Regions from separate parts of the Homo sapiens genome. Here region 1 is linked to region 2. The links are contacts of gene promoters, found by promoter capture Hi-C in human tissues and cell types (Jung and others, 2019). All regions are on one chromosome and are shown on one strand. Each heading gives the region's core, a stretch centred on a gene start or on the middle of the fragment in contact. The rest is flanking DNA. Distances are from core to core; before and after follow the strand shown. Region 1 has its middle 13 kb from the start of NEFM. Region 2 holds the start of EBF2 (EBF transcription factor 2).

The links. The method cuts DNA at HindIII sites, captures the fragments that hold promoters and counts their contacts. A contact is called where the count stands out against the background at its distance.
Region 1: a contact is called between a fragment that was not itself captured here and the fragment with the promoter of EBF2 in region 2, in 1 of the 25 tissues and cell types used here (dorsolateral prefrontal cortex).

Annotation. Positions count from the first base shown.
Region 1 is chr8:24,897,850-24,904,272 of GRCh38, forward strand. No RefSeq gene overlaps it. Among named protein-coding and RNA genes, the nearest start is that of NEFM, 13 kb to the right of the region's middle. The HindIII fragment of the contact is 6,177 bases long and covers 377-6,423 here.
Region 2 is chr8:26,041,436-26,048,327 of GRCh38, forward strand. It overlaps EBF2 (EBF transcription factor 2), which reads right to left and starts at 3,978. Exons shown (of 16, transcript NM_022659.4): 1 at 3,294-3,978; 2 at 660-816. The coding sequence starts at 3,424. RefSeq lists a silencer at 1,898-2,192 and an enhancer at 6,494-6,892. The HindIII fragment of the contact is 15,996 bases long and covers 1-6,892 here.

The DNA.
Region 1 (6,423 bases), core at 2,215-4,714, 1.1 Mb before region 2:
TTACCATCTTACAAAATGAAAGTAGGCTTCAAACTAGTAAACTGAATTCCAGAACATACACCAAGCTATGTGCCCCCTGTATATCCAGATCTACCCAGGTACTGGTCTGTATTTTACCCACGTTGGTAGACTCATTCCTCTCACTCAACCTCCTAACCCCTTGATCACCTAAAAAGGAGAAGTCAGAGTACATAAATCTTGTAGCTTTGGGGGCTTATGCAACTTCAGTGGTTTTTAAGCTCATCATGCTGTGGGAATTCTCAGATGATCTCCCAGCCCAGTGACCCTCCGGAAAATGGCATAATCCTAGGATGAGAGAAGCAACATATGAAAATCAGCAGATTTTCAGAACAAAACTGACCATGTGGGTTTGTGGCCAAATTACACTTGAGCATATCGACCCAGCAGGCATAGGATAATTCCACCCACCAGCCTCCGCACAGAGACTGCAGAAGTGCAAAGGAAAAATGGCTTCAGTGAGGGAGGAATGGACGTGCTCCAATAGATGAATGAGTGAAGGTAGCACTCACAAACTAGAGAAAATGCCCACGCACCTCTTCCCAGCCCACCCTTATATCCACACCAGCCCCCAAATACACACACTCACCCATCTGATCATGTCACTTGATCCAGATAGAAGACTTGAGCAGGGGTGGGGCTAGGCTCCGGGCTTATAGGAAGGAACCAGAAAAATACAGACTGTGTTTTATTTTTGTCATGCTAACTCCAGAGTATTCCCCAGATTGGCGTGAACTGACGAATCCACAAGAAAAATCATATATGTGAGAAAAATGTGTTCCAGTTCCAGCTCTTTGGTTTACTAGCTGTGACACATTTCTTGGAGCCTATTTTCTTATCTCTAAAATGGGAACAACAATACTGGCCTTACAGTGTCAACTGGAGGATTAAAGCAAATCTACATAAAGTGTCTCAAACATGATTGACCTTTCTATATATTGCTCCTAGCTGGAGTTCTCCACCTAATGATATCACAATGTCGTCTCCACTGTGGCTTCTTCAGAACAGAGGTTAAGTAACATTTGTTTCTAATTTTCCAATGATGACCACACTGTCTAGCATACTGTAAGAGAAAATGGGATAGCATTTGCTTTGAACTGTAGAAGGACTCTATACTTAGTCACTTTTACATTCTGAAAAAGAAACAACCCTTCATTGACAATCAGAAACTTATCTGACAATATTCAGATTTAAACTTTTTAACTTCCAGCCCTTCACCCTGGGGCCTATGGGAAAAACCCACAGCTCCCAGCCCAACATATTAATCATTATAGGACTCCAAGGAATGGTAACTGACTGTTTGACTGAATGAATAAATGAGCGAGTGAATTAAAAAACAATTATGTGAGGCAGTTTATTAAGATGAAATTGACAAAAATCACGGAGTGATTTGAGCAGTGAGGTGGCTCAAATTACAAATAACCATGTTTTGGAACAATTTTTATTTTAGTGACCTAATTGGTACAAGGCAAAGAAAGGCTTTAGGCACTAGAAAAAAAATGAGGTAATTTTTAAATTGTAAGAACTACAAGTTATCCCAAAATATGATGAACAATGACCAAAAGTGAAACCAGAGGAATAGTACATGAAAGGAAATAATTATCTTCTTATAAACTAGATGGAAAAGAATGGGATAAATAATAATGTTTCAGGATCTTTCATTAGGTTCCAAGGAGAAAGGTATCAACGTTTCTGGGGGTAAATTTTCTACATTGTGATTTTTAATGAGGTATTTAGTTAGCATTACCCCAAGAGATACTCCTGTATTTTTAGCAGCCTTTTATTCACCCACTTAAGAAAATGCTTCTTTTTAATTCAAATGTAGACTTCTCCTCTTAAAATAGTTTTTTAGAGCAAGATAATTTTCATCTACCTAGAACCGTTTTGTTACCATTACGCCTAGAGTCAATTAATCTTTCAAAGGCCTTTTCTGCATCCTCAGACTCCACATTTTCCTTTATCAATTGAAGCAGAGCAAATCAGGAGCTAAGAAAAAGTAGGACCCGGACAGGAGCGATGGCTCACGCCTGTAATCCTGGCACATTGGGAGGCCAAAGTGGGTGGATCACGAGGTCAGGAGTTCAAGACCAGTCTGGCCAACATGGTGAAAACCCGTTTCCACTAAAAATACAAAAAAAAAAAAAAAATAGCCGGGCGTAGTGGCACATGCCTGTAATCCCAGCTACTCAGGAGGCCGAGGCAGGAGAATAGCTTGAGCCCGAGAGGCAGAGCTTGCAGTGAGCCGAGATTGTGCCACTGCACTCCAGCTTGGGTGACAGAGCGAGACTCTGTCTCAAAATCAAAAACAAAACAAAAAAAAACTAGGACCCAAGAGTGGGTTCCAATGCTGCTCACTCAAATCTCTTTTACATTAAGGTAGCTTTAAAATGCTTTCACCAATATGGCTCACAAAAGCATCGTCACTGGCAAAGAATCTGAGTGCTTCCAAATCACTTTAGAAATACAAAATGTGATGTAAATGCTTAATTAGAAAAAGTTACATGTGACACAGTTGCTATTTTTACTACCTGTCTATCAAGAGCCCACGCAGATTTGTCTAAAATAGCAGAGTTACAGGCCAAGAAGAAATCAGTCAAGATATCAAATGCTGCACTTTGATTTCAGAGGCAATGCGTGATTGGAACCCATTACGACTGTCCTTGACACTCAGGAATGAGGCAGATTCCTTGAGAGAAACCACTAGTTTTTAAGGCGTCCCCTCTTAGTCTTCCTCTGAAAACTGAGGTTCAAGCTGTCCACAATGGTCCCTAGCAAACATCAACACTCACCAAAGTACTTCCTCCTTTTTTCTCTTCCTCTGTGCAAACCAGCTTAGAGTAGATACAATGCATGATTTCAACTCCAGCTCAGCAGCAAGGGAAAATCAAAAGGGCAATCGATGTAATTGATGGGTGCCTGTAATGCCCAGCTTGTGGTATATACAACACCTCAAGATAAGCAAATCCAAAAGGTCAAAGTCAACTGTTTTCCACATATTGATTGGAAAAGATCAATTACTTTCCAGTTTACCATCTGGTCACCAAACATTAATTGGCCATTGACTATGTAAATGAAATGCAGAAATGCATAATTATCCCCGTGATTGTTTCTAGTTAAAATGTATTTTATAAAGGTGATGTGGCTGTATACAGCCTTCATAATACAGGGGACAAGCAGAAATATGGAGAGAATCCAGAAGTGCCATTGTCAACAATTAATTCTAGTGCAAGCCACATACCTGGAGGGCCACAATTCCAGGCTCTTGCCAGCTTGTTTTTAGACTACCTGACCTACACTTCGGGACTTAGGAAAGAGTTCCCAAGTGATATCATAGAGAAGTCTGATCAGGACATCAGGAATCCAAAATCTAAACTTAAGCAAACCTAACCATGTTATTAATAAAAAACAAGGAAAAGGGTCAAAACCCTCTGTTTCCTCTGAGTCTAGGAAATCACAGCTCTAATGTGCTCTTTGATTTTGTTTAATTCGATATGTCTATTTATAAGACGTGTACATTGCATGTTATTTTTATACCCAGTGAGAAGAGGAAAGTGGAAAAGGATAAAGCAGCAGTAAGAAGAGGTCCTTGCCTTTAAAGAGCCTAAAGTTTAATTGCAGGAACAAGATTTCTTTGCATATGCAATATAAAACAATACGAGCTGGGATAATTACCAAATCACATGATGCCAACTACATGCTGGGAGAACTTAAGAGGAGAGAGGAGGCAATGAAGTCTTCCTGAGAAAGCAGAAATGGAGCTGTGGTCTAGTGGGTAGAATCTGGATAGGGGGTGAGTAATGGATGAAACATTCAAGAAGAACAGAGTGCCATAATATCGGAATTCTAAGCATGCCCTCTGGCCCAATCAATTCATTAAAATCTCATTTTCTGAACCCAGATATAGTGGACGCATTTCCAACTAGAACCCCAAGATGACCACACAGTACAAAACAGGCCACCTCCCCACCAGGATCAGTACACAAAAGAAGAATAAGCTTCTTTGTTCTTTTAGCCACTGTAATATTGGGTCTCTCGTTAATCAGCTTAGCCTTTTTACCCAACTAATGCAAGATCTCACTTAGTCTTTGAAAAAGCAGTTTCATTTAAGTAGAATAGATATCATCTCCCATTAGGCAGATGAGCAAACTAAGGCCAAGGGAAGTTCAAGGTCACGGAACCTTCTGATGCTGTCCTGTTCACTGATTCCCAGAGTCTTAGTCTTTGCCTTTGGTAACTTTGTCACTTCTTATTTCTGACATTGTGAACAGAAGAACCATTTAGATTTAAGTGTTGATGGAAATTTGACAGGGTTGAATTTCACATTTCAAATATAGAATCCTGAACCTAGATTTTAAATTAGCTGCACATAGCAAGTGGTTTTCATAATTATTGGTATTACACATTTGTTACCACTGCAAAATTTAAAGGAGCACGAAAGATGTAATTGCAACACACAGTTCTGGAACCCAGGGCAGAAATGTTTGGCATTGGGGGTAATTTACACCTATAATGTAATTAAACAGGAGGTAATTTGCATCCAGATTTGCACATTACTGTATTTTTTTCTGATTATAAAAATAAAATAAAAAAAACTCTGGCAAGCACAGGAGGTTTTGGAGTGTTCTGACAATTAGTATTTTAGACAAATGACATGAGGAAGAGGACTTTCTAATCCTTCTGGATCCTTAGCAATTTGCCAAAAAAAAAATAAGCTGTCTGTCAGATATTTTCACATGAAACATGTTGTGAAAAATAACTATTTTCCCTCCACACTATTTTTGCTAAAATGTATTTATTGTTTCTCTCTGATTCTCATCTATTGATAGGATCTGCCTATAAATAAAAAACATGAAAGGCATAAACCTAAGCATTCAAAATGGATAAGAATCTAAGTGTTATATTAGCAAGAAAATTAGGATTTAGGTTATCAAAAAATTCATAGATTATACCAAATGCTTGTTACGGTATAATCTGTTGTCTATATCTTTTTGCAACTTCAGCTTTGTGCTTTGCCAGATCTGTCACTTGTGTCACTGAGACAAAAGAGTTCATCTATATTCAAGGCTAAATGCAGATTCAGGGTAACATGATCTGTTCACTTTAAGGCAACACGTAGCTCCTACAAAAGAAAGAATCTGCAACCTGGCAACTTTCTATCTCATTATGTATGTCCATATGCAAAAAATTGAGTGCAGGGGAAAGAAGGGGTGTCCTGTTAGATACATGCACATACTCGGTCTTATGCAAAAATAATTTTTTTCCTCTTATCTTGATATTGAACTGTGTGCCTAAAATCAAGCACCCAATAACACTGTGGCTGAATAGGTCTCTAATTATCTTCATTCTAACATTTTTGTTGCCAAACCTGGTGAGCTAAAGCACATCAATTTCCTTCTCTTTTACCCTAGGTAAATTCTTATCTCTCTGACAAGTCTTTAAACTCTTCATGAAAAGGTTATGTGATATACGTCTCGTTAGCACATGAAAACCTACCACACGCCCAGAGCGATGCCAACCACTATAGGGGAGGTTTATGAGCATCATAATTATAATAATAATAACTACTGTTTATCTGGCACTGTCAAAGGCACTAGCAGTTTATACACACTATTTAACCCCCAAAACCACATTATGAAATAGGTACTATTATTATTGCTGTTTCACAAATTAAGAAAATGAAGTTTGGAGTGGTTTAGACACAACAGAGTAACAAGACAACAGCACCAACGGGCTTGCAATCTAGCTAGGAATCTAAGACCAACTGGGGTAAGAAAATCATTGAAAAGTACTGTATTAGGATGGTGCAAAAATAATTGTGGTTTTTGCCATTACTTTTCTTTTTTTTTTTTTTTTTAGATGGAGTCTCACTCTGTCACCAGGCTGGAGTACAGTAGTGCGATCTCGGCTCACTGCAACCTCCAACTTTCTGGTTCAAGTGATTCTCCTGCCTCAGCCTCCCGAGTGGCTGAGATTACAGGCACGTGCCACCATGACCAGCTAATTTTTGTATTTTTAGTAGAGACAGGGTTTCACTGTGTTAGCCAGGATGGTCTCGATCTCCTGACCTCGTAATCTGCCCGCCTCGGCCTCCCAAAGTGCTGGGATTACAGGCGTGAGCCACTGCACCCAGCCTGCCATTACTTTCAATGAGAACTGCAATTACTTTTGCACCAGCCTAATATATAACTAGGCCCTACACTGTATGCAGTACACAGAGTGGAGAGTAGTGCCTTTCTCTATAGTCAAGGAAATTCAATCACCTGGAAGATTCTTTCCTTGGTTGCTTCATAGGCATCACAGGTTTGGCATACATAAATTCCAGCATCCAGCCTCAACCCCTAGACTTGGTTTTTCTCCTGTACTTTATATTTTGGGGGATGTATTAGGCTGAAAAATGGCCCCTCT
Region 2 (6,892 bases), core at 2,728-5,227:
GGCCACGAGCTCAGGGACTGAGTTCCAGGTTCAGGAGGGACTTTGGGAAGTGCCTACTCTAAAGCTCACATTGTACAGCTGGGGACACGGAGACCCGGAAAGGGCAAGGGATTTTCCTTTGGTCACACATAGGTTTCGGCGGACTGTCCTTCATTTGAGACCGAACCCAGCCCCCAATTCCAGGCTTGAGTTTGGAGGAGGCGCTGCCTTGGAGAACAGAACAGGAGAGAAGACACGGCCAGAAGGCAGGCCAAGGCTGGGCTGCCGGTTTCCACTTAGTGCCGCAACTCAGGCCACCTGGCTCTCGCAGGTGCAAAATAATTAAAATTAACCCAGAGAAGGGGAGCGGCGGCCTTGGGTGTACTTTTTAACTAGTCCAAGGGGCGTTTGCTCCGCCGTCAGTCCATAACCAGGCGCTACTAAGGCCTCCAGGCTCGGTGCGCAGAGCCGGGAGCGCTCCTCCAGCTCCAGGTTGGGGGAGTCGGGGTGGGAGGAGGTTCGGGAAATCGACTGATTTAGAGGCTGGGGGTGAGTAGCCTCGATTTATCATCCCTGATGGTGAGAGTGGAAAAGTGTCGCGAGAGTGACAGATGGAATCTTTAGTGCTTCGCAAGAGGGAGTTATTAGGCCGCGGGGTTTGGGGGGTACTTTCCGCTTACTTTGTCATTCTCCACAAAGTCCACGAAGGCCGTCCGCTCGATCTCCACCGGCTGGCCCTGCCTGTCATAGAGCGCCAGGACGAAGTGAAAGAAGTTGGATTTCCTCAAGTTGGAAGGAGGCTGTTTCTCAAAGTGGGCCCGGGACAGGGCGACCCCGCTGCACAGGGAGAAAAACGGGGGAACACAAGACACGGGGAAGCACAAAAAGGCGATGTTACTAACCGCCCACAACACTGCAGAGGGGTAAGGGGTCCACTTCCCAGGTCCAGAGTTCTGAACCCTTCGGGCCTTTTTTCCAATTCGGATAAGGAAGAGGAGACTCCTTAAAGGAGTCACCGTGGCCACGGGGGTTGGGTGGCAGGGTTGATACCTGGGGTCTCTGACACCACCAAGTGGTCCGGCATCCCACCGCTGGGCCACTCACCATCCCGTCTTTAGTCGAAACCGAAAGACCCCGGCTGCAGACAGAGGCCCAGAGTGGTCCCCTAAGGAGGTGGCCCGCGTCCTATACCGTGGGGCTGTCTCCATCCACTCCCTCAGGTGGTACTGCTGGGTGTATCAGGATGCAGAGCTGGGGCCCAGGGTTAGGGGAATAAGTGCCTCCTTTGCTTTGGAAGAAGCGACCCTTTTATTTAGTATTAATTCGAGTTATCAGTCCTGGACCCACTGCTCACAACGCCCAAATGCTGACTGGGAAAGGTAGTGGGTAAGAACCCCAAGGGGCAGGCGGGAGAGTAACACAGAGTCCAGGTCTGGGTCCTTGGGCTGCTTGCCTCGCTCTTCCGAAAAGTTGTGCCTGGGACAGAGACAGGGCGGAATCCTCGCGACCAGCCCCGGGGATCGCTGGCCACCACAAATGAGATGACCGACATAGGGGGCCCTCCCTCCCAGAGGTGCTAGGTGGGGAAAAGCCAAACTGTTAAAAGGCGAGAACCTCCTTTCCTGGGGCCAACGCGATCCCCACTCATGCTGCGTTTTCTGGCGGCGCCAGCCGAACCCAGTGACTGTGAAACCCAAGTTGGGGGACCCGGAAGGCGCCCTCGAGCGTGCTGAGTGTGTGCACACGCTTCCCAGCCAACCGGTCGCAGTCACAGCCCACCTGGCCATCAGATCCCATTTCACCGAAGACTTGGGGCTGAGGTGAACGCACAGATTGCGGGAGCTGCCCTGCGGCGCTGGGGTCTCCCAGGTTGAACCCCGGTGCGCAAGCACCTTCATTCACTCTTTTGAAAGGGGTAACATTTTGGCTAAGCTCTCCCCCACTAAGTCTGCTCCTTCCAGCTTCAACAAACTTTTTGATCCCGGGAAGGAAGGAAAGCGAGGGAGGCGTCTTTAAGGAGCCCAGCTAAGGAAATGCGCGGCACAGTTGGCTCTGCGGTGCTGCCTTATTTCCCTTAGCTCGCAGGCGGGCCAGTCCCGAAGCGCTGCGGAAAGCCGCGGCCGCCGCGCTGTGCGGTCTGCCGGAGGGAAATCCGCGCTCCCCGGGCCACAGGAGGGAGGGAACCGCCGCCGGCCCAAGTCCCGGAGCGATAAAACTTCTGCTTTCTCCGCTCCAAGGGTAGAGGCCGGTTCGCTCTACCCGGGACACCTGGCCAGTTTGGGAAAGGGATCATTTCTCCGTGTGATGTTGGCACTTAAATGTGGGTGGCCAGGAGGGCAGCAGGGGAAGCGAGGGTAGTGGAAGAAGTTCATCGGCTCTTTGGGGGTAGAAGGGCTGCCTCTCTCGCAGACAAGGACCTGGAGGCCACAAATCCCAACTCAGTAGTGGTGATGAGAGAGTGGGACCGTAATGTCTTCGTAGGGTGGCACCCCGGACATGGTATTTACTATCCCAGCACGCAGACGCCTAAACACAAAGTCAACTTCAGGGATCCGCAAAACCAGAGGCTGGCGATCCCTGAGCCAGTCTAGCTGCTGGTGGCCTTTTCTCGCCTCTTTCTTCTTCCGCAACTCTTTCTACTGTGACTCAGTATTTTCTCTTCTTTTAAATCTCTTCTTTTCTCCAGTTCCCTAGCTCCGTTCGTCTGGCTCACTGTTTTATCTTTGAGCCGGGACCCTCCAGCCTGTCCCCCCTCCCAGAGCTCCCGGCCGCCTCGTCTTCCCGGGCAGCCGCTCCGGCTTTTCCCGCTCCCCTCGCCGCCGCCACCCTCTGGCCGCCGGCCTCCCAGGCTCCAGGAATCGCCCAGCAAGATGCGGGAGGTAGGCGCTCGCAGGCGGCGTGGCGAAGCCAAGAGTGGCCAGGAAGCCGGCTTTCCTCCCGCGCCGCCACTGCCAGCGCCGGTGTTCACGCTCCGTTCGGGGCCAGGCCGGCTCGGCTTGCAGGACTAGGGGCTGAGCTGGGAGATGTTGGGGGCTACTTTATTTTTCCTTGCAAAGAGTGGACTGTGGTAAAGGAGAGGGAGAGAAACGCCTACGACCCAGGCAGTTCAGGAACTCGAGTGCCGGCTGCCGGGTGAGCGTTCGCCTGACTGCAGCGATCTGCTTGCCCGAGGGCGAGCCCCAGCGCGCAGGGCCTGGGCGACAGATGGGGGGACAGGGAGAGAGAAAGGCACGGGGTGCGCGGGGGGGGTGCACACGGAGAGACAGACCGTAAGAGCGAGAGACAGCATAATAATTGCGCGGCCGTGTCGTTACCTCTGCGCGGCGACATTAGCGTCCACCACTCCGACATTCCGGACCCAGGACCTGACCGAATCCATCTCCGCGCCCAGCGATTTCTCTTTCAGAGTTGGTCCTCTTCCTAAAGTATCTTGAATTCCAAACATTTAAAAAGTCTGATCCTCTACTGTCGCTTTAAAAGTAAGAGTTACAACACAGTCCTGACTGTTCCCAACGTTGCCAGCAAATCGTCTCCTCCAAAGCAATCCAAGAAAAGGGATCAAGTGCCCAAGTTTGAGTCTTAGAAAAAAAAAAAAGATAACCCGTCCTTTGCTTCACTGGCGAGGTGCGGACTGATGTAGTCAAAGTTTGGGTTCTTATCCTCCGCAAGTTCAGATCTGCCGCCTCAGCCACTCCACCCTAGGTCGCTCGCATCCTTCCAGCTGCAGTGCTGCCTCCTGAAAGTGATCACAATTTAGAAGCATCACCTGTTCTGGGAGAAACTGGAGGAAATTGATGGCTGCCTAATCTCTCCCCTTCCTCCAGGTCCCCCCTCCCTGCTCCTCCCCACCGTTCCAATTTAGAAAAAAAAAAAATCCCCAACAGGATCAGTTGTAAAAAGAAGGGGAAGACCTGGAGCCGAGAGGAGGCGGTGGCTGCGAGCGCCACGGAGCCCGGCTGCAGCCGCGCGCGGGCCCCATGAATGGGTTACTACGGCCCTGGCTGCGGGAGGCGGAGCTGCGGCCCGATAAGGAGCCTCATTTGCATGGACGCGCGGGATTGGCCGGCGCCTGGCAAGCCGGGCCGACGTCCTCCGGCGGCGCGCGCCACGCTCTGCGTTGCCGGGACTCCGGGAGGTGAAAGGGGACAGAAAGCTGCGGGCGTCGAGTCCTAGCACGAACCCCGTGTGCTTGCGCAGGATTGGGGGGCCCCCACACCCTGCACTGACTTAGGGTAGCAGGTCTCTGCGGGCTGGGGACGCAGGGGTTCGGCCTGGCTGCGGGAAGCCTCCCTGGATCCTGCCTCTAGATGTAGGCTTTTGTAGCCTGCCGGGAGGCACGTTCGTTCCCGGGGTTCGGATCTGTGTGCATGCTTGTGAGCGTGGCCACATGTGCTTATGTTTTGCGCAAACGTCCCCCAGAGCACCCAGCTCCCTGAATGGCTCCCCAGGTCTCCTGGAGTTCCATGGTGATATCAGATGTTGTGTGCGGCTTGCACGTTGCTGAGAGTGGAGAACATATGAAAGAAGGCGGGGGATGGGGTGGGGCGGACAAGCGAGGGGCAAGTGCTGCTCAAATACAGTGCTGGGGAAAACGGTCCAGGACCTAAGGAAAACACCCGCGGGCGGGCGGGCGCGAGCGGCAGTCGCACCCGTGTGGAGGAGAGGTTGCTGACAGATCGAGGCGGGCTGAGTGCGCGAGCGGCCGGGGAGTATTCCCGCGGGTCCTCCGGTTCCCTCCCCACCTCTCCGTTCCCGAAGCCCCCGGTAGTGGGCGGGGAGGGACGGGGGAGTCGTGGAAACTTCGCCCACCGCGCGCGGTCGCCGCGGTGCTGGCCGCGGGCTGGTGGCCGGCAGGCGGTGGCAGCAGCCTCACCGAACAGCTGAAACCCTAGACGGTTTTTTAACTGCGCGGGGCTGCTCGCGGTGCCTATTAAACATCCTCCTGGCTGGGTGTCATTTTCTTGCTTCTCCTTTTGTATTCTGATCTGCGCATAGATCTGCTGCTGCTGAAATCTAGAACACCAGCGCGAAAACAGATTTGAAGACAATGAATGCAAATCTGTGCTCAAAGACCATCTGCCGTGGAGGAGACAATCAGCTGTTCGTAGTTCGAGCGATTGCGCCCCAGTCTCCCGGTCTCATTACGGGGAGGGCATTTGCGAGCGCCTGGACTGCGTTCAGGGCACTTTCTCCCCTCTTGGGTCTCAGATTTGAGAGACCAGATCCCTTAGGTGTAGGTGAGCGCTCGCAAATGAACTGCTAGAGTTTGCCGCTAGAGGACACAGCGCCTTGCAACTGGTTTGCCTAGGCTGACAGGAAGCTTGCACTTCAAGAAAACTCGGCTCTCTCGAGAAAGGGACCGGTGCGCGCCTCCACCTCCCCAAGGGACAAACCGCGGCACCACGCTGCGTGCGCGGGATTGCGACTAGGAAGTGCTGGTCCGAACTGCGGAGATTCGCTTGAAAACGGATAGGGGGTTAGGGAGTTTGCGGGGCGGGTGCACGGACCGTCTCTGCACAGGCCCCGGGATCCAGGGACTGGGGTCATTGATTTGGGGGAAGGTAGAGAAGGTAAACCCCCCGCCTCTGGGTTGTGTTGACTGTGGTACCCCGACCCCAGAGCTCTGGCTTGGTCCTCCCTGTTGGACTGGAAGGGGCGGGAGAGCCATACAGGGCGATTGGGAAATGGATCGGGTGGCTAGTAAAAGCCAAGTAAGACAGGAGTGTCCAAAGGAAGAAGGGGGTAGGGAGGGAAATTTGTAGGGATGAGATTCACTGCCCTGTTTCAACTCGGCAATTCTCTGTTACATGCAGGTTTTACGGAGAATTTCGGTCCCAGCAAAAACTGATCACCTGGAGTCTTCTACGGTCTCTCTTTATAAATCTCTCCGAACCTCAAGCAACTCCCCCCCACCCCCTTCGTCTGGGGTCTGCGCCCAGCGGGGCCAAAGCCTTGAGTTCCTTGGCAGAGAGTGTGGAACAGCCGTGAGCCCTTCAAGACATGCCTATGAGCCCGGTGATTTTTTTTTCAAGGGGGCTTTGATCAGCTGTACCTCCACGTTGCCCCGGAAAGGTGCGCAGGGCACCCGGAGAGGCCTCTGGTCAGCAGTGGGCCTGGGCCAAGCCCCAACAGTTTACCCCTCAGGCTCAGGTTGGCTGGGGTTAAAGGGCAAAGTCAGGGTCGAGGGCACCAGCTTTTCTCGGCGGTAACAGCTGCCACCCAAATTATGCCCCCTCAGGAAGCGAATGAATTGTTCCTTTCTCCCAGCTCCCTGCTGCCCGCCCCAAAACAGACGGGGCCGCGCTCGGCGGGCGCCCCTCCTCCCAGCCAACCCCCCGAGACGCGCTCAGGGGCCTCGGTGCCCCGCTGGGAGGCAATTTGGGGGAGCCGTGGTCCCGAACTTTGACAGAGTGGGGCTTCCCCACTACTTGCCGGCTGCGCTAAGGGCGCCCCCCGCGGCAGTGCTGCTGGGAGCTCCAGGGATGGCTGTGTGGCTCGCTGCGGGCGTTGAAGTTCCCTGTTGGCCAGGCTGAAGTGCCTGCGCGAGCGTGAGGGGACAAGGACTGCCTTGGGCCCAGCGTGGCGGCGTTTCGGCCAACCCAGTTGGGGTTAATTGCGTCTGTATAGGTTTTGGGTAGGAATGCTCGCGGAGTCCGCCACCCGCGCGAAACATGCGTTGGTTGGGGGAATGAGCAGCGGCGGCTGCGCCTGGAGGGTTGCTCCCACCTCTGTCGCCTCCAGCTACCCCCAAACAAACCTCCTTTTCGATCTCGTGCAACACAAAACCTGCCCCGAGCTGTGCGGGGGCCTGGCAAGCGCAGCTGCGGCCCCGGGAAGCCCAATCCCGCGGGACTGCGGAGCCCACGCGCTCCTCAGGCTCCGGCCAACTAGCTCGGTTCTGCCTCTAGCCCGG